Linked DNA regions of Homo sapiens: regions 2, 3, 4, 5 and 6 are each linked to region 1. Evidence: promoter capture Hi-C in 16 types of primary human blood cells and fetal thymus (Javierre and others, 2016). All regions are on one chromosome and are shown on one strand. Each heading gives the region's core, a stretch centred on a gene start or on the middle of the fragment in contact. The rest is flanking DNA. Distances are from core to core; before and after follow the strand shown.

What was found. The method cuts DNA at HindIII sites, captures the fragments that hold promoters and counts their contacts. A CHiCAGO score of 5 or more calls a contact.
Region 2: a contact is called between a fragment that was not itself captured here and the fragment with the promoter of CSGALNACT2 in region 1, in 1 of 17 cell types (M0 macrophages). The highest score is 5.6, in M0 macrophages.
Region 3: the fragment with the promoter of ZNF25 here is called in contact with the fragment with the promoter of CSGALNACT2 in region 1 in 4 of 17 cell types (naive CD8 T cells, naive CD4 T cells, total CD4 T cells and 1 more); the score reaches 19.1 in naive CD8 T cells.
Region 4: a contact is called between a fragment that was not itself captured here and the fragment with the promoter of CSGALNACT2 in region 1, in 1 of 17 cell types (activated CD4 T cells). The highest score is 7.7, in activated CD4 T cells.
Region 5: the fragment with the promoter of CREM here is called in contact with the fragment with the promoter of CSGALNACT2 in region 1 in 6 of 17 cell types (naive CD4 T cells, non-activated CD4 T cells, total B cells and 3 more); the score reaches 10.3 in naive CD4 T cells.
Region 6: a contact is called between a fragment that was not itself captured here and the fragment with the promoter of CSGALNACT2 in region 1, in 2 of 17 cell types (naive B cells and activated CD4 T cells). The highest score is 8.6, in naive B cells.

The regions. Positions count from the first base shown.
Region 1 is chr10:43,136,607-43,139,924 of GRCh38, reverse strand. It overlaps CSGALNACT2 (chondroitin sulfate N-acetylgalactosaminyltransferase 2), which reads right to left and starts at 1,480. Exons shown (of 8, transcript NM_018590.5): 1 at 1,358-1,480. It overlaps CSGALNACT2-DT (CSGALNACT2 divergent transcript), which reads left to right and starts at 1,532. Exons shown (of 1, transcript NR_186456.1): 1 at 1,532-3,101. RefSeq lists silencers at 944-1,013, 1,124-1,623, 1,794-1,853, 1,984-2,183. The HindIII fragment of the contact is 5,511 bases long and covers 808-3,318 here.
Region 2 is chr10:35,188,802-35,191,818 of GRCh38, reverse strand. The region is part of intron 6 of CREM (cAMP responsive element modulator); the gene reads right to left. Among named protein-coding and RNA genes, the nearest start is that of LINC02634, 54 kb to the left of the region's middle. The HindIII fragment of the contact is 2,427 bases long and covers 96-2,522 here.
Region 3 is chr10:37,975,172-37,978,319 of GRCh38, reverse strand. It overlaps ZNF25 (zinc finger protein 25), which reads left to right and starts at 1,673. Exons shown (of 6, transcript NM_145011.4): 1 at 1,673-1,814. It overlaps ZNF25-DT (ZNF25 divergent transcript), which reads right to left and starts at 1,565. Exons shown (of 6, transcript XR_930830.4): 1 at 1,315-1,565. RefSeq lists enhancers at 1,430-1,659, 2,700-2,789 and a silencer at 1,700-2,109. The HindIII fragment of the contact is 11,670 bases long and covers 124-3,148 here.
Region 4 is chr10:38,103,683-38,106,619 of GRCh38, reverse strand. The region is part of intron 5 of ZNF37A (zinc finger protein 37A); the gene reads right to left. Among named protein-coding and RNA genes, the nearest start is that of ZNF37A, 11 kb to the right of the region's middle. The HindIII fragment of the contact is 1,064 bases long and covers 1,117-2,180 here.
Region 5 is chr10:35,125,545-35,128,835 of GRCh38, reverse strand. CREM (cAMP responsive element modulator) reads right to left here and starts at 1,990. Exons shown (of 8, transcript NM_183011.2): 1 at 1,643-1,990. It also overlaps a transcript of CUL2 not described here. RefSeq lists an enhancer at 953-1,022 and silencers at 1,383-1,522, 1,583-2,102. The HindIII fragment of the contact is 8,974 bases long and covers 1-2,503 here.
Region 6 is chr10:38,000,714-38,004,077 of GRCh38, reverse strand. It overlaps ZNF25-DT (ZNF25 divergent transcript), which reads right to left. Exons shown (of 6, transcript XR_930830.4): 5 at 305-358. Among named protein-coding and RNA genes, the nearest start is that of ZNF33A, 8.3 kb to the left of the region's middle. The HindIII fragment of the contact is 659 bases long and covers 1,020-1,678 here.

The DNA of each region.
Region 1 (3,318 bases), core at 231-2,730:
CACGCCAGGCCCACAGTATTCTTAATATCCAAAACACATCATATACAAAAATTGGGAACATAAATGTCCATCAACTGAAGAGTAGTCACATATTATTCAATAGACTATTACACAGTAATAATACAATACCATGAAATAGCATGGGTGTGTCCCACAAACAATATGCTGAGAATACTACGTGATTCCATTAACATGAAGCTCAAAACAGAGAAAACTAAAAGCAGATAAGAGAAGTTAGAATACAGATGGGAAAACAAGGATATAACTGACTTGGAAGAAGCACAGGAAAATAGGATGATGGAAATGTTCTATGGTTATAATTTGATATATCTGGTGGTTCCACAGGGTAATAAGTATGTAAAAATTCATTGAGCTGTACAATTAAGATTCGTGCTCTTATTGATTTCATATGTATTTTATGCCTCGACAAAAACAAAGAGAAAAATGCAGCTTCTAAACTGGTTGGAACTGTGTTTATTTAGGCCAAAATCCTCTGAGCCACAAATACTGGAAATCCATCTTTTTTCATTCTTTTAGTTACATGACAACTTTAAACAAATGGTACAAGAACAATAATACAAAATGAACGCTAACACTCAGTCCTAAAATACTTGGCTTCTTACTTCCAAGATCGAAGCTACTATTTTAATACAACATTCAAAAAACAACATTAATTACCAGACATGAAGGCCCTGCTCCCGCGAGCCTTGAATGACGGTGAAACGTCACGACATCCCATATCTATCTCAAAAGCACGCTAGAAAATACCTCCAAGTTTAACAAGCCAAGGACTCAGGAAGAGAAGCTTCAGATGTATAATCAAACTATCATACCGCCAATACCATCATCACAAACAGAAGTATCACTGTCGTGCTTCCTGCGTTGCTCAAGGGTAGAGTCATTTTTAAGGTGCATTCTCCGACAACGCCAGAGGCTCCCCATCTCCTCCGCCCCACTGAGCCCTCCACGACAGAGCATCTTTACCGGCGCTCGCTCTGCCATCTACAGATAAAGAGGGGCTGAGGGCAGAACTATTTTAACGCGATGACGAGGTCACCACTGATTAAAAAGTTTATCCACTGAGAGGAGCAGAGATGGTGATGAATAGGTAAAAACAAAACGAAACAAAACAAAACCCAACACTGACAAGCGAACCAATCGTCTCTGGCCGCGCTTTCCCTAAAACCGGTGCCGACTCCGGCAGGCTCATCCCTGAGAGACAGGGCCCCCCGCAGGACCGGTCCGCTAGGCGACCCCACCCGACCACACAGGAGCCCGCAGCCCCGGCGCCCGCACCGCCCGGGCCGGAGCCGGCGGGAGTCGCGGACCGGCGGGCGAGGCCGGGCCAGGTACTCACCGCGCTCGCCCGCTCTGCGCTCCACCGCCTCCTGCGCCGCGGGGACACCCGGGCGGCGCCTCACGCCTTGGGCCCGCCGCCGCCTCAGCCACCCACCCCCGGGCGCGCCGCCGCGCCTGAGAGGCCACTTCCGGCGCGCGCGAGGAAATGAAGCCGCCGCGCGCCCGCGGCCCCGCCCAGGAAGCTCCGCCACTGGCAGCTGGGTACCGATTCATCACCGACGTGTTTAAAGTATCCGTGTGTGTGCCTCCAAAAACCGTTTGTGGAGACAGCAGAGTGCCCGAGGCAGGAAACCGCTCCGGCCTGGAGGCGCCCCTGCCCGGACTCGTGGACTGCAGCGCTGTCCCGCTCGGAAGCCGATCCTGGGAGTCCGAGCGGGGCCGCGGGGCCTGCGTGGCAGCCGAGTCGAGGGCTTCGGGCCGCGGGGCTGTGGAGCGCCCCTTGGCGCTGGGCCGCCGGCAGCCGTGAGCGCATCACTGCATTTCCCTGGAGGAATTCCTCATCTGTTGAATGAGGGAGTTGAGGCGGACACGCTGGGAAATGGCTTCGAGCTCACACACTGATTTTCGTGAGTGGAAAGAGAAGCCCTTTCTTAGGCGTCTTCCATACCACTGCATGTTCCAGGGTCCTCCCTGGGCTCTCTGTCTCCCACGCCACCGCGAGCACGGCCTAAGCGGGCGAGCGAAGGCGCGACGGCGCCGAGAGCCGGCTGTGGTGGGTGCCGGGCGCGTCACCGCGGGCTGGCGGGGGAGGGGACGCTGGGAAGCTCTCCAGAAAGAGGAGCCGCCACCGAGCAAATTCCCATCTGCCACGCACCGCAGAGCCTCGCCCTCCGCCGCCAGCATTTTCTTTCTTTGTTCTCCTAGCCCTACAAACGCTGGGTTTCCTTTCTCATTCGTGGACTTTTTTCCCTGGATCCTTCTTACTGCTCCTACCCTGTGGCCGCACGTCTGGCAGATGCGCGGCGGGCGCTGCCTGAACCCCCGAATCCTCACAAGCCTCTGTGCAGCGGCCACGGCCCTCAGCTAGCGGCGGGGAGACTGAAGCCGCAGGGTCAGGGTTAGTTGCCACATGTTTTAAATTCCTATCCAAACTTCCATTATAATTGTTTTTATTTATTTATTCATCTATTTTTTGAGACAGGGTCCCGCTCTGTCGCCCAGGCTGGAGTGCAGTGGAGCGATCACGGTTCACTGCAGCCTCCCCACCTCCGACTCCAGCGATCCTCTCGCCTCAGCCTCCCGAGTAGCTGGGACCACAGGTGCATGCCACCATGCCCGGCTAATTGTTAATATTTTTTTTGGTAGAGATGGGGCCTCCCTCTGTTGCCTAGGCTGGCCTTGAACTCCTGGGCTCAAGCGATCTTCCAGCTTCGGCCTCCCAAAGTGCTGGCATTACAGGCGTGAGTCACCCCGCCTGGCAAGAATTGTTGTTTTGAAACTAACTGAGGTTCTCCCATCAATGGATTTAAATTGTTACTTTTTAATGATTTTTTTTTAAGTAGCCAAATACTAAATGTATGTAATTTGAATGTGGAGAGAAGATAATGCATGATTCAAATTATGTGGCTGATCATGGGTGATACACTGGGATATAGTTGTAAAATAAGTAGTTCTCCTAGGGAAAATATTAAAGTACAACTGTGTTGGGTTTAATATCAGAAAAATGTAATTAAAAACATTTCCTGCCAATAATTTCCAATCTGATACTTAAACAAAACAAAACAATAAAAGTTTCCCATCTCTTTCGGGCCTTTTAAATTTCTACCAAAAGTAAGTGATGCTGGCTGATTCCCCTGCTATAGCAAGTTGTGAATAAATAGCCTTTGCTGGTTTCCACAGTTTTCCTGGTGATCCCATGGTAAGTCTGTACTGCTTGTCCCTGAGGTCCCCAGGCTTCCACCCATTGTGCCACCCAGAGGCCCCTCATGCCTCCATGTTCTCGGCCTATCAGGTGCGCCG
Region 2 (3,017 bases), core at 60-2,559, 7.9 Mb after region 1:
GGAGGGAGTCCTTCAGGGAGGGAGCTCAGCAGGAAGAGGGTGGGGGAGTGAGCCTGAGGATCACTGAAACACTCAGGACAGGGGCAGGGGAAGCTTAGCCCAGCAACAGGACTGACAGAGAAGCAGCAGAGAGAGAAGAGCAAGGAGGACACAGTCTCAGGAAGTGGAGGAAGCAGAAGTCGACAGTGTTAAATACTGCTGAGGCATCAGCCAAGACAGGCACTGAGAATCCACAAAGAAGCTGACAGGGCCCTTCAGTGAGATGAAGGGAGAAGGAGGGCAGGGAACACTGCCACTAAGTTCAGGAAGACAAGAATGCCCACTGGCCTTGCTGTGTTTAAACTGGAGCTCCTGGCCATGATTATTTAAGGAAAAGAAAAAAAGAGAAAAAGAAAACAGGAATAAAGATTGGAAGGGAGGAAACAAAACATCACTATTTGTATAAACATTCACATAGGATCACAGACCGAATCACAAAGAATCAGTAAATTATTAGAAGTAATTAGAGTTCAGCAAAGTTAATAGATAAAAGATCGACTTAAAATAATCCGTATTTCTCTACACCAGCAACAATTAGAAAATACAATACAAAATAAGGTACCATTGTAATGGCAACAAAACCCATAAAGTACTTAGGAACCAACTAAAGAAAGAATATGCAAGATCTCCGTGAAGAAAAATGTTCAACTGTTCCCTAAAACTTAAAGTATAATAAATAAATAAATAAATAAAAAGAAAAATGTTCAACTGTTAAAAGAAGTAAAATGAGATCTGAATAAACAAGACTTTCTATGGTTTGGGATAGGTCAACTTAACATTATGAAGACTTCAGCTCTCCCTAAATTAAATGCAGTCTTGGCTGGGCATGGTGGCTCATGCCTGTAATCCCAGCACTTCGGGAGGCTGAGGTGGGCGGATCATGAGGTCAGGAGATCGAGACCATCCTGGCGAACATGGTGAAACCCTGTATCTACTAAAAATACAAAAAAATTAGTCGGACATGGTGGCAGGCGCCTGTAGTCCCAGCTACTTGGGAGGCTGAGGCAGAAGAATGGCGTGAACCCGGGAGGTGGAGCTTGCAGTGAGCCATCGTGCCACTGCACTCCAGGCAGGGCAACAGAGCGAGACTCCATCTCAAGAAAAAAAAAATTAATGCAGTCTCATCATTGGTTTTATTATTATTATTATTACTACTACTATTTAGAAACTCAAACTTATTCCAAATGCATATGAAAGAATAATCGTGCACAAAAAACTAACTCTGTATCAAACTGAGAAAAAAGACAAGGGGAACTTGTTTTATGAGATAACAAACATGTATGGCGCTGGGATTCAGAAAAAGATGAATCAGACAGAAGACTGGCCAGATCCAGGTGCAAAAGCAAACCCACTGTCTAATTAAGGCTGCCCCATACACCAGTGAGGAAACAACAAACCCTTGGGAGTGGCTCCATATACGGAGAAAAAAGTTAAAAATGAATTCCCACCAAATACTATATACAGAAGTGAAGCCCAGATACATTAAAGACATAAATGTGAAAGGTAAAACCATAAAGCAAATAGAAGAAAATGTGGAAAAAAATCTTTGTGACTTGTGGAAGAAAATTCTTAAAAACCCCAAGGCACAAACTTACGTGCATATTGTGTAAAACATTAAAAATTCTCAAAACTCTGTTGTTTGCAGTAGATTCTTCCATGTAACAAAGATAAAATGAGAAGAAATAATTATTCTTTAAGATTATTCACCTAGACATAAATATGGTCCATGAGTATGGGGGGAATAGAACAGGTGGCTTTCATTTTACATTTCAAGAAAACATTAAAGTACTGGGTTTGTACTATGCATTTTTTACTCCATAAATGCCACCACCTCAGTTCTTCACACACTTTTACCATAGTCCACATTAACCCCCAAAATACCTGAGTATAATTATCAAGAGACTCATCAATTATAATATGCTTATCATACCTGCAAGACATTCGAACTAAAATAACTGATTTTACTTTCCTTAACGTTAGTGCTGCCTGTAATCCCAGCACTTTGGGAGGCCAAGGTGGGTGGACTGCCTGAGCTCAGGAGTTCACGACCAGCCTGGGCAATACGGTGAAACCCCGTCTCTACTAAAATACAATAAATTAGCCGGGCATGGCGTTATGCACCTGTAGTCCCAGCTACTCGGGAGGCTGAGGCAGAAGAATTGCTTGAACCTGGGAGGCGGAGGTCGCAGTGAGCCGAGATCGCGCCACTGCACTCCAGCCTGGGCAACAGAGCGAGACTCTGTCTCAAAAATAAATAAATAAATAAATAAATAAACAAACAAACAAACAAGCAAGCAAATTTTTAAAAAATAGTGCTATATCCTAAATCCTAAGCGAATGGACCAAGAGGAATAGAATTCAATTAAAACACAGGAGTTTTGAAAGCTGTATTAAATACATCTATTACAGTTATCATAGGCACAACTGAATTAAAATAATGTATAACGCAAATCCAGTTGAAATCTCAGGTAACCCTAAAAGCTTAGGGCTACATCTCAACTTTTATTTCATTACTGACAGCTTCCATAAGAGCTAGAATGGATACTTCAGAATTCAAACAACTAAGAACAGTCAGTCAAAAAAACAAACAAACAAAAAAAAACAAAAAACCCAAAGTCAGCATTTGTTTTGAAATGAGTTGCCTAGAAATTAGACTTGAAAGTAACAGCTAGGGAAAAAAACAAATTTGGGGCATCATAGCCTGAATACTTAAATTGTCATAGATTAGGTAATAGAAATCTATTAGGTACAACATTTGCAACCCCCAAATGAAGGATATCTAATTAATTTAAAAATTCATTCATGTGGCCGGGTGCGGTGGCTCACGTCTGTAATCCCAGCACTTTAGGAGGCTGAGGCCTCCACCTGAGGTCAGGACGACTCCATCTGAGGTCAGGAGTTTGAGACCAGCCTGCCCAACATGGTGAAACCCCGTCTCTACTAAAAATACAAAAATTAGCCAGGCGTGGTGGCTCATG
Region 3 (3,148 bases), core at 424-2,923, 5.2 Mb after region 1:
AAAAGGGAAAAAGACCTTTACTCCTCTCTTTTCTTACAGCATTTCCTTAAGAAAACTTGTAATTGTAAATCCCTTCTCTGTCCCTGTGAGATATAGCAAAACTTTTTAAAAAGTAAATAAGCTTCTTGCTAGTTTAACAACCCAGGAAGGTCTTTCTTAATGGCCTTGGGTCATGTCTTTGAAATGTAAGCATCAAGGAAGATTGCACCCCATCTCCCTGCCTCTGTGGTAAACTCCTAGGCTCCTGGCTACCCGCGGTTAACTACCTGCGTGTCATAGAGATACCAGAAACTTTACTTTTCATTTGCATAATGGCAATTAACTAACACTGATGGCTACCCTAATTATCAGGTGAATTTCAGATGAATTATGCATAGCAAATGTTGCTGTACAGTCATCTTACTTGAGGACAAGTTATTTTTACCTTGAGGAAATAGAATGCGTTGTACCAGACCGGCTAATACAAAAAATGATAGTTCTTCCTGTCTTCATAAACTCATTAGTGGGTTGCCTGTGACGCACATCGCAGTCTGGTTTAATGTTTATTCAATAATGTAACTGTTTTGTTCTTTTCTCCATCTGTGGAGAGAATTTTCTGGGTTGGCAAGAGGCTTTATTTTAAATTATTTCCTCAATACTTCCCATCCAGAAAGGTGGTGTGTGTGTGTGTATTATGTGCGCATATTTTTATATGTATATATATGTGTGTTTATACACATGACAATATATACGTTTTTTTCTAGATGATTCTACATGTTTTAATGTAATAAAGTTATTGACCAGGAAATATATAATTTGTTTTACATATACAGCCAAGTCCTCTCTCTGTATCCGCGGGGGATTAGTACCAGGACCTCCCTGGATTACTCAAATCCAGGGATGTTCAAGTCTCTGGTAGAAAATAACCTGATATTTGCATAACCTACACACCTCCTCCTGTATATTTTAAATTATGTCTAGATTAATTGTACACCTAACACAATGTAAATACTATGTAAATAGTTTTATTGTATTGTTTAGGGTATAATGACAAGGGGGAAACTTTGTACATGTTCAGTAAGATAGAATTTTTAAGTATTTTCATTCTGAGCTTAGTTGAATCCATAGATATGCACCCCCAGGATAAGGAGGGATGACTATATATATTCCTTAGTGAAATGATAGTCATGATACTCTATACCATTAGGTTAAAATTTGTGTAAATTCATGAGAAGGATGTTCACCTAACATTAAGCGCTTTTGCTTTTGGGAAGTGGTATACTCGTTTTCTGTTTTAGCTTATACATATTTTGTAGTTTATTACGTTTCGCGTACCGTTTGCACAATTGTGAAAGCTAGCATTCCTAAGAGGAAGCGGTTACAGGGCATTATCCTTCATTACTCCACGTACTCCTGTACCCACGGAGTTCAATCACTTTAACAAAACTGCCCATCAGTGTTCCTTGGAGCACCTCACGGTGGATTTCTGTCTTCAAGCCCAGACGTGCAGGGTGCAGCTCTCCGGCCATCACTGAGCAAGGACAGCGCCCTCTCCCGGAAACCCGACAGCAATCACTCAGGCCGCTGGAGGCGGCCGCGCCTCACGACGTCATCCAAGATGGAGTCGCAGCCGGGCCTTCTGGGAAGCGTAGTTCTGGAGTAGGGCTAGGGAAACGTTCTGCGCATGTGCAGTGTCTTCTTTCTGGCATTGGCGTTTTTTTGGTCTTACGCCCTAGGGTGGGGAGAGGACTCCGGTGCCTCCGGGTCTGGGCTGGGCCGCAAAGGGCGGGGCCTGGGCCCGGCGCGGGCCGGGAGCAGAGGCCGAGACCCTGCAGGTGTGTCGAAGGCTTTTGCGGGCGGGCAGGGCCTGGGAGGCGGGGTCTCGAGCCTGGAAGCCGCCTCCTGGCCCCGGAGCGGCCTCCGCGGAGGGCCCTGGGTGGGAGCCGCCTGGTGGGGAGGTTGGCTGGCTGCGCTGGCGCCCCTGCCCGGAATGGCGTTTGCGCGACCTGCTTGAGGGGCGGCCAGAGGAGGCCTGCGGTGCTGGGCAGTGGGCGCCCGGAGCAGCCGCATTGTGTGACGTGACCGGAGCCGCCATGTGAGGCGCGCTGGCCGCTGCAGACGCGGCGCTCCAAAGCCGCAGGGACGTGGGCTCTGGTCCAGCGTCTGTAGGTGGTCCCAGTGCGGCTCGACGCGCATCTGGCAAATGATGGGGGCCTTTGGGTACTGAATAGGGTAATAGATGTAAAGTATGATACAGGACTCAATAAAGGTGAGCTGCTTCTATTATTACAAAACATGCTGTTTTCATTATTGGCTCATTTAATCATCGTAACCATCCTTTCGACTTAACCATCTCTATTAAAATAAATGTGACTATTAAAGATTCAGAGAGAGAAATCCGTTTACCCACAGTATTAGCAGGTGGGATGTAAATCCTCACTTTTTCCTCTGAGTTAATGCGCCTTGCCACACTAAAATCCAGTCTTGACTTGTATTTAGCACAGCATTTGCCCCTTGAGCACCACCAGAACGTAGCTGTGTGGTGTACTTGAACCCAGTCTCAACCAGGTAGTGTTCTGTTTCCAAAAATGCTTGGGGAATCTTCAGAGCACTTGAGTCAAAAGGTGAATTATTTAAGGCCTTCCTGCATCCTCCAACCTTAGTCTCTTCTCAGAGGACTGTGAAACGTGTAAATTGAAACCACAATTTGAGCCCTCAATTTTGCATTTTACAGGAGAAGCTGGGAATCCCATCCAGCCCAGAGGCTAGTTTCTAAAGACAGGAAATGGGACAAAAAATTTTTTTAAAGATGAAAACTGCAGTTCATCAGTTCCTCCATTTTATGGTGGTGATCTTATAATGCCTCTCATTGGCTGATAACTGAGCTTAGGCATTTCGTAAGCACCATGCTAGCTGGAAGTGGTTTTTGCTGCTTATTTTAGTTTTTTTTTTTGGTACATAATGTACATATTTGTGGGGTACATGTGATATTTTGATATATGCATACAATGTGTCATGATCAAATCGGGGTAATTACAATATCCACCGCCTCATTTATCATTTCTTTGTGTTGCAAATATTCGAAATCTTCTAGCTATTCTGATAGCTAATAAATTATTGCTAACACTTGTAACCATACTGTGCTATTGAACACTAGGACTTAATCCTT
Region 4 (2,937 bases), core at 399-2,898, 5.0 Mb after region 1:
TCTATCCTTTTATCAAGATTCTTAGCTTCCCTGCATTGGATAGAACATGCTCCTTTAACTTGGAGGAGTTAGTTATTATTACCCACCTTCTGAAGCCTACTTCTGACAATTTGTCAAACTCATTCTCTGTCCAGTTTTGTTCCCTTGCAGGCAAGGAGTTGTGTGGAGGAGTGTGTTGGAGGAGAAGAGGTGTACTGGTTTTTGGAATTTTCAGCCTTTTGTGCTGGTTTCTCCCCATCTTCGTGGATTTATTTACCTTTGGTGTTTGATGTTGGTGACCTTCAGATGGGGTTTCTGAATGGATGTCCTTTTTGTTGATGTTGATGTTATTCCTTTCTCTTTGTTAGTTTTCCTTCTAATAGTCAGGCCCCTCTGCTGCAGGTCTGCTGGAGTTTGCTGGAGGTCCACTCCAGACCCTGTTTGCCTCGGTATCACCAGTGGAGGCTGCCAAACAGCAAAGACTGCTGCCTGTTCCTCCACATAATAAAGCACATATACAAAAAACTCATAGGTAACATACTCCACAGTGAAAGACTGAAAGATCCCCCCCTAAGATCATGAACAGGCAATGATAGTGCTTTCACACCACTGCAATTCAACACTGTATTAAAAGTTCTAGCCAGAGCAAATAGGCAAGAAAAAAAAAATAAAAGACATTCAAATTGAAAGGCAGAAGTAAAACTACTCTATTTGCAGATAACATTATTTAGCATATAATCCACAAAACATCTATGAGCTAACAAATAGTTTTGGCATAGTTGCAGAGTACAAAATCAACACACAACAATTAGGTTTTTTTAAAAAAAATACTCCAACAATGAACAATCCAAAAGGAAATTCAGAAAATAATTCCATTTATGGTAGTATTCAGTAAAATAAAATACTTAGTGCTATGGTCTGAATGTATGTCCCCTTCACAACTTCATATGTTGAAATCTAATACCATTGCAATAGTATGAAGCGGCATGGCCTTTAGGAGGTGATTAGGAAGCTCTGCCTTCATGAATGGGATAAGTGTCCTTATAATTTAATGGACAAAGTAGTGGCTTGACAACCTATAGAGACAGGTTTAGATACTGTGCTGCTAATAATCAGAAATTTTATTTTTGATAAGCTTACATAAAGTAATGATGTTTTTCCAAAAATAAGAAGACTTAGTCAAATGGCCCCTTTTAACTTCTAAAATGTTTTAATACATCAAATCTGATTTGAATATTTAATATAGCAACTATGGATAATTCCAGGAATGGTGATCTAAGGGATCAAACCAGAGCTGAGGAGACAGGTAGCACTGGCAGGTAAGAGATTAGATACAGGCTGGGCACGGTGGCTCACATCTGTAATCCCAACACTTTGTTAGGCCAAGGTGGGCAGATCACCTGAGGTCGGGAGTTCGAGACCAGCCTGACCAACATGGAGAAACCCTGTCTCTACTAAAAATACAAAATTAGCCAGGCATGGTGGCACATGTCTGTAATCCCAGCTACTTGGGAGGCTGAGGTAGGAGAATCACTTGAACCCAGAAGGCGGAGGTTGCGGTGAGCTGAGATCATGCCATTGCATTCCAGCCTGGGCACCAAGAGCAAAACTCCATCTCAAAAAAAAAAAAAAAGAAAAAATATTGGATGCAAACAGGGAGAAGGAGCAAATAAATATTGTGGATAATGGTATAGCCTGGTTTCTCACTGTTGAAGAAAGAAGTTACAAAGATGGAAAACAGAAAGGCTATGGGGTTAAGATTGAAACTGGGAAATGTCTACGTAAACTCATTGTTTAAAAAATATGTATAGACAGACCAATACAAAAATAGGTGTACACATGTGTATTTCTGTGTGTGTGTGTGTATGTATACATACACACATGTATTTCCTAACTGTCAATTGAGAGGGATTGAGGCAGTGACAACCTTTAGCAATAAGCACCCAGATCTTGGTTTTTAAATTCCATCCTCCACTAGAAAGAACAATGTCCTTTGGAGAAATGGCTAATGGTAGAGGTACTGCAGGAAAAGGACAAGATGGGCCAGGCACATCTGTTGTTCCACAGAGTAATTACTCAAAAACTGATGTGGGGGGTAGGCTGAAAATGGAAAAGGTAACTCCAAAACTCCATCCCAAACTAAAGCAACAATTAAGCTGGGGAAGAAAAAAAAAACAAAAAACACCTCTCAGCATCAAGCTTTTCAGAATTCTCCAATCTAATTAAAAACCTAGTACACCCAGAACATTCCTGGTATGACTTGCTGATGCCTGTGCCAACGTGGACAGTATGCACCTTGTTTTCAGAGAACTGTAGTTGTGTATTTTGATCTGTCTATGCGGGCTCTCTGAAGAAGTGGCTCACAGGCTTGTCTTTGTTTTGCCTTCCTTGAAACTTTCTCAGGGCTAGTCTTCCAGGAAGTGCTTGTTGAAAGCATTTAAAGGCAATTATCTGGCCACAGTAGCCAGATGAGAAAAGCAGCAGATGGACTGAAAAACTGGGAATGTAAAAACTGGGAAGGAAACACATGGGGCCAGGGGTGGGGATAAGGGGTTTGAAAAGCTCCTGCATAAAGCAGGGAATTGAGATCATGTGTAAGTCCAAGACAATATGCATGCTCAGAAAAAACCTGAGAGGAACCTAAGCTTTCACATCTGGTTGACCTTCACGCTCTGTGTAAGCAGGAAGTAAAGGTTAATGCAGAGATGTAAATGGCCTGGCAAGCCATTACAGGAGCGCCCTAAAACAGGGCCAATATGCACAGACCAGAAGAGTTTTTTGTTTTGTTTTGGCTCTAGGCATTTAAAGAAATCTCTGTCAAATCACAGACGACCACTAAACTAATAGAACAGAGGTTTCAGTGACCATGTACAACAAAGAACACTGACTTTACAAAAATAGTTTATAAAAGTCACAAAATAAGCAAATAATACAAAATAAACAGCAACAACAAATTCT
Region 5 (3,291 bases), core at 741-3,240, 8.0 Mb after region 1:
TAGGAAAAAAAGGCCGGGAGCGGTGGCTCATGCCTGTAATCCCAGCACTTTGGGAGGCCGACGCGGGCGGATCACGAGGTCAGGAGATCGAGACCATCCTGGCTAACACTGTGAAACCCCGTTTCTACTAAAAATACAAAAAATTAGCCAGGCGTGGTGGCGGGCGCCTGTAGTCCCAGCTACTCAGGAGGCTGAGGCAGGAGAATGGCGTGAACCCAGGAGGCGGAGCTTGCAGTGAGCTGAGAGCGGACCACTGCACTCCAGCCTGGGCGACAGAGCGAGACCCCGTCTCAAAAAAAAAAAAAAAAAGACTAGGAAAAAAACGTGGCGCTCAAAGCAAAAAACAAAAAAACAACAAATAAAAAACAGCGTGGTTTATTCATGTAATCTGATGCAATGTTCACAGCGGACCTCTCACTGTTCAATCTAGATCTTTGTTTCAAGGGAAAGGTACACCCTCATCTGCCCGGCAAATTAAGTAGAAAGGAAACTGAGTCACGTACGTAAGCCACAGTGTTAAAGGAGCTCTTTCAATTTCAGTGACACTTTGAGACTGGCCCTGTAAGTCCCAATTTCTTAAAATGTGATTACAAACTCACCGCTGCTTCACTGAGCAGCATGCAGGAAACCCCTAAGTGATTTCAAACTCAGGTATCTGATATACAAATAAAACGCAACAGGATCAAGAAACATGCTGAGGCCAGGCGCGGCGGCTCACGCCTGTAATCCCAGCACTTTGGGAGGCCGAGGTGGGTGGAAGGTCAGGAGTTCGAGACCAGCCTGACCAACATGGTAAAACCCCATCTCTACTAAAAATACAAAAATTAGCAGGCGTGGTGGCGCATGCCTGTAATCCCAGCTACTCGGGAGGCTGAGGCAAGAGAATCGCTTGAACCCAGGAGGCAGAGGCTGCAGTGAGCCGAGATCATGCCCCTGCATTCCAGCCTGGGTAACAGCAAGACTCCGTCTCAAAAAAAAAAAGTATGTTTAATAATGTGTTTATTCCCCAGATTCAACAGGCTCTGGAAACCTTACCAGATGGCCCTAAAAAGGCAAGACTCAGGCAGAAGGGAAAATGCGCCTTCCGAGAGCGGTCGCGGCTCTGCCCTTCCCACTCCGGAGACTGCCCGCGCCCGGGACCGAATGACTCAGCTGCGAGGCCCTCCGGCCCAGGTTTTGGGGGAAAACGGGCTGCGTCCGCTTTCGTCTAAACTGCGCTCGTAAAGTGGGGCAGAGGCGCTGGGGGCACTCAAATCCGAGGTCCTTACTTCTGGATTCCTTTTCCTTTTCCGAGTTAAACCGCTCCCCTGAGCCGCACGGCTCTCTCAGGGAGGATTTTCCAACTCGTCCCAAGTTCGCGAGGAGGCAGGCGGGTCCCGGGGCAGCTGAGCGCACGAAGCGGGCGTGGGGCGGCGAGCCGGCGGCCTCGGGGGCGCCGAGCGAGGGGCCGCGTCAGGTGAACTCGCGGCTGCCCCGCCAGTCCTTGGCCCGGCCCCGGGGTCCCGGCCCGCCGCCCACGGCTCCGCTCGGCCTCTGCTGCTCCACCGCACCCGGCTCCGCTCCGCCTCCTGCCTCCACCTCCACCTCCTGCGCCGCGTCGCCCGCTGCTGGGTCTCGGGGCCGGAGCCGACGCACCACTTACCCGCCGCAAAGGGATTTACGTAGCGGACCTCGTCACTGATTACGGACGCGAGGAGGTGGAGACGGCGAGCCCGACCGCCGCTCAGCAGCGGCGCCGCCGCCCAGCAACCCGGAGCCGGCAGCGGCCCCACGTAGTCCTCACGTCAGCTGTGATGCGGTAGCCGCGGCCTCCCTGCCGACCCCGGACCAAAAGTAGCGCTGCAGCCGACCGAACCGCGTCCTCCCGCCCCGTCCTCCCCTCCCCCACGCCGGGACGGCCTCCCGGGGGAGGCCCCGAGGAAAAAAATCCAGGCTCGAACTCCGCCCCCTGCCGGCCGCCAGCAGGAGTGAAGCGCCACAATCCAACAATGAAATGGAACCGGGGAGGGGCGGCGGGAAGGTGCGGGTCAGGGGGCGGGGCCTAGGGATAGGGAGAAGGAAGGTCAGGGGGCGGGGCCAAGAGGAGGAACTAGCCTGGAGGTGGGGCGGAAGGTAGGGGCGGGGGCAAGGCTGGAAACCGGAAGCTGCCCGTGCCGCGCCGCGCGTGCGCCAGAAATCCAATGACTTGTCAGCCAGAGTAACGGCTGTTGTCAGGTCTTCAGGGTCTCGAGGTCGGTTTCTTCCTAACGCCGCCAACCCCAAGCTAAGGTCCGCGAGCGTCTCACCTCTGTCCAGGCTGGGCTGCAGTGGCGTGGTCTCGGCTCTCTGCAACCTCTATCTCCCCAGGCTCAAGCGATCCTCCGGCCTCAGCCTCCTGAGTAGCTGGGACTGCAGGCGTGCTTCTTCTGACTTCTAAAAGCTATCTACATACCTTGACTAGTGGCCCTTTTCCTCCATATTCACAGCCAGTCACAGCTGGTTGAGTCCTTCTCCAAAAGAAGCTTGAGCTCCTGAGACAATTCACCTGCTTCTTAGGGTCATTTATTGCAGTTTATCCCAGTATTTGACTGGAAATGGTCCGCATGCTGGGCCCGCTGGCTCGGGCCTGTAATCCCAACACTTCGGGAGGCCAAGGTGGGAGGATCGCTTGAGCCCAGGAGACCAGCCTAGGGAACACAGTGAGACTTCATCTCTTTTTTTTTTTTTAGATTAGAAAGGTCGGCCGGGGGCTCACGCCTGTAATCCCAGCATTTTGGGAGGCAGACATGGGCAGATCACCTGAGGTCAGGAGCAGCCTGGCCAACATGGTGAAACCCCATCTCTACTAAAAATACAAAAATTAGCTAGGAGTGGTGGCAGACGCCTGTAGTCCCAGCTAGTTGGGAGGCTGAGGCAGGAGAATCGCTTGAACCTGGGAGGTCAAGGCTGCAGTGAGCTGAGATCGTTCCACTGCACTCCAGTCTGGGTGACAGAGCGAGGCTCCATCTCAAAAATAAAAAAAGTAATGGGATATCAGGAATAAAGAATAGCAGCATGGTTATAGAGTACAGTAGGTCCTCACTTAACGATAGGTTCTTAGAAATCATGGCTTTAAGCCAAACAACTTACAGCAGGTCCACAAAAAAATTTTCATTCAGTGTTGTTTTCATTTCGTTATAATATTGATGATAACAAAAATCGGTTTCATTGTACGTTGTTTCACTGAAAACCAGTTTCTAAGAAGCTATTGACAATGTTAAGTGAGGATTTATTATTTCATATCAGTTACTGTAGTGTCAGAGTGTTTTCATA
Region 6 (3,364 bases), core at 100-2,599, 5.1 Mb after region 1:
TTTAAGGGAGTAATTTTTGTATGTAAATTGTATCCCAAATTTACAAATACTTTTTTTTTTTTTTGAGACGGAGTCTAGCTCTGTCACCAGGCTGGAGCGCAGTGGCATGATCTCAACTCACTGCAACCTCCAATGAAGAAGGAATTCATGAATTTTGCAAGTATAATCAAAGACCACCAAGAAATTTTTACTTTTTCCTTCTAAGCTAAGTGTAGTATAGCCCCCACCCCCATAGTCTAAGTTAGAGAAGAATACTAACTGCCTGGTTTTCCTTCTGTGCTCAGCAAGCCTTATCTGTACTCACCAGTTTCCCATTCCTTGGGGCTCAGTGAATTCCTGCTTCACCTCCCTAGTGCAGCTGCAAAGTTACAAGGTTGATAAGTATATGTTACAGAAACATTGTTTCCCAAGGATGTGGAACAAGTAGTATAGGTAAATGTAAAAGACTGATCAACTGCCTTTGTTCTCACTTCTGTAAGTACACTTCCTGCATCACATAGCTCCTGGCCACTGGAAGCTTAAAAGGAGGCTGCATTCTTTGTCCAGGGTTCAGACTTTCCTGGACACTAGTCCTACTGAGCCAGGTGATCAACTTAATAAAGGCTTTCCTGAATTCTGTTCGGTCTCTCCCATCTCTGATTGTCCCGTAACATATCTGGGGGCCTGTCTGGGATTGGAGATGGCAGGTTTCTGTCTCCTTTGCCTGTGGGCTAGAGCCACAGGATGCAGGAGATTTGGGACCCTTGGTGCCACTGGGTAAGACTTAGCCCAGAAGGAGAATGGCTCTCCTGTTTATTGGAGCCTTCCCCTGACAGTGCAAACGCAACCGACTCGGGAGTTGCGGGACAGTCACAGGAGCAGCACAGAGGCAGACTACTGAACTGCGGTAAGGTTGGGCCCTGGAAAAGTCCGTCCCATAAGGACAGAAGGGGAGCTTGATCACCTTCCTGGGAATGACCACTTATCCACCCCAGAGTGGCTGGGGGTGGCAGGAGTGGCCTACCAATTTGGATGAAGCTTGTGTCCCCACTAACAAGTGAAAGTAGTTCACTGGATCTGGAACTCCTCTCTGGTTTTCACTTACCATCTTCAAACTGGGTCAATCTACTCTACCACCCAGGGTTCTGAAAATAAAATGTAGGAGCCCCTAGCCCAAGGCCTACCTGGAATATTGTAATTCCTCATTAAATGTGCTTTAAGTATTATATCAGGTTCTCCAGAGAAACTAAGTGTGTGTGTGCATGTGTGTGTGTGTGTTTGTATACTTGCATATATACATGTGTATATATTTACATATGTGTATATATATGAGAGAGATTTATCATAAGGAATTGGCTTATGCAATCATGCAATTATGGAGGTTGACAACTCTCAAGATCTGAAGGATGATGAGTCCATGTTTGGGGACCCAGGAGAGCCAGTTGTGTAGTTCCAGGCTGAAGGCCTGCAAGCATGAGGCCCAGGAAGAGCAGATCTTTCAATTCAAGTCCTAAGGCAGGAAAAAGCTAATGTGTCAATAAGAAGGCTTGTTTTATTCAATCCTTCAACTGACCAGATGAGGCCCACTCACATCAGGAAGACAGTCTACTCAGCCTACCAGTTATGTTTTCTCTTGTTTTAGTGGGGGCTTTTGCTGTTTTTCTTTGAGGGGGGGAGTTATTTTTAGCATAACTAAGCTTTTTATGTTTTTAACTTTGTTTGATTTTAGATTCAGGAGTACATGTGCATGTTTGCTACATGGGCATATTGTGAACTGGTGGGGATTGGACTTTTAGTGTACCCATTACCTAAATAGTCAACATTATCCAAATAGTGAGTCCTCACCCCTTTCCACCCTCCCCCCTTTTGGAGTCCACAGTTGTCTATTATTTCCATCTTTGTGTCAATTTGTACCGATTGTTTAGCTCCCACTTATAAGTGTGAATATGCAGTATTTGGTTTTCTGTTTCTGAGTTACTCTGCTTATGATAATGGCCTCCAGCTCCATCCATATTGTGGCAAAGGACATAATTTCATTCTTTTTAAAGGCTGGGTAATATTCTGTGGCACATATGTACCATATTTTATTTATTCAGTCAACTGTTGATGGACACTTAGCTTGGTTCCATAATTTTGATATCGTGAATAGTGCTGCTAGGAATATATAAATGCTGGGTTTTATTTGTTTGTTTTTGAGACAGGGTCTCACTCTGTCACCCAGGCTCGAGTGCAGTGGTGCTTTCCTGGCTCACTGTAACCTCAACCTCCTGGGCTCAAGGGATCCTTCTGCCTCAATCTACCAAGTAGCTGGGACGACAGGCACATGCCATCACACTTGGCTAATTTTTGTATATTTTGTAGAGATAGGATTTTGCTATGTTACCCAGGCTGGTCATGAACTGCTGGGCTCAAGGGATCTGCCCCCCTCAGCCTCCCAAATTGCTAGGATAATAGGCTTGAGCTACACTTTTTTTTTTTTTCTGAGATGGAGTCTTGCTCTCTCGCCCAGGCTGGAGTGCAGTGGCTTGATCTCAGCTCACTGCAACCTCTGCCTCCTGGGTTCAAACACTTCTCCTGCCTCAGCCTCCCAAGTAGCTGGGACTACAGGTGCCTGCCAACATGCGCAGCTAACTTTTTTTTTTTTTTATATACTTTAAGTTTTAGGGTACACGTGCACATTGTGCAGATTAGTTACATATGTATACATGTGCCATGCTGGTGCGCTGCACCCACTAACTCGTCATCTAGCATTAGGTATATCTCCCGATGCTATCCCTCCCCCCTCCCCCGACCCCACAACAATCCCCAGAGTGTGATATTCCCCTCCCTGTGTCCATGTGATCTCATTGTTCAATTCCCACCTATGAGTGAGAATATGCGGAGTTTGGCTTTTTGTTCTTGCGATAGTTTACTGAGAATGATGATTTCCAATTTCATCCATGTCCCTACAAAGGACATGAACTCATCATTTTTTATGGCTGCATAGTATTCCATGGTGTATATGTGCCACATTTTCTTAATCCAGTCTATCATTGTTGGACATTTGGGTTGGTTCCAAGTCTTTGCTGTCGTGAATAATGCCGCAATAAACATACGTGTGCCTGTGTCTTTATAGCAGCATGATTTATAGTCCTTTGGGTATATACCCAGTAATGGGATGGCTGGGTCAAATGGTATTTCTAGTTCTAGATCCCTGAGGAATTGCCACACTGACTTCCACAATGGTTGAACTAGTTTACTGTCCCACCAACAGTGTAAAAGTGTTCCTGTTTCTCCACATCCTCTCCAGCACCTGTTGTTTCCTGACTTTTTAATGATTGCCATTCTAACTGGTGTGAGATGGTATCTCATTGTGGTTTTGATTTGCATTTCTCTGATGGCCAGT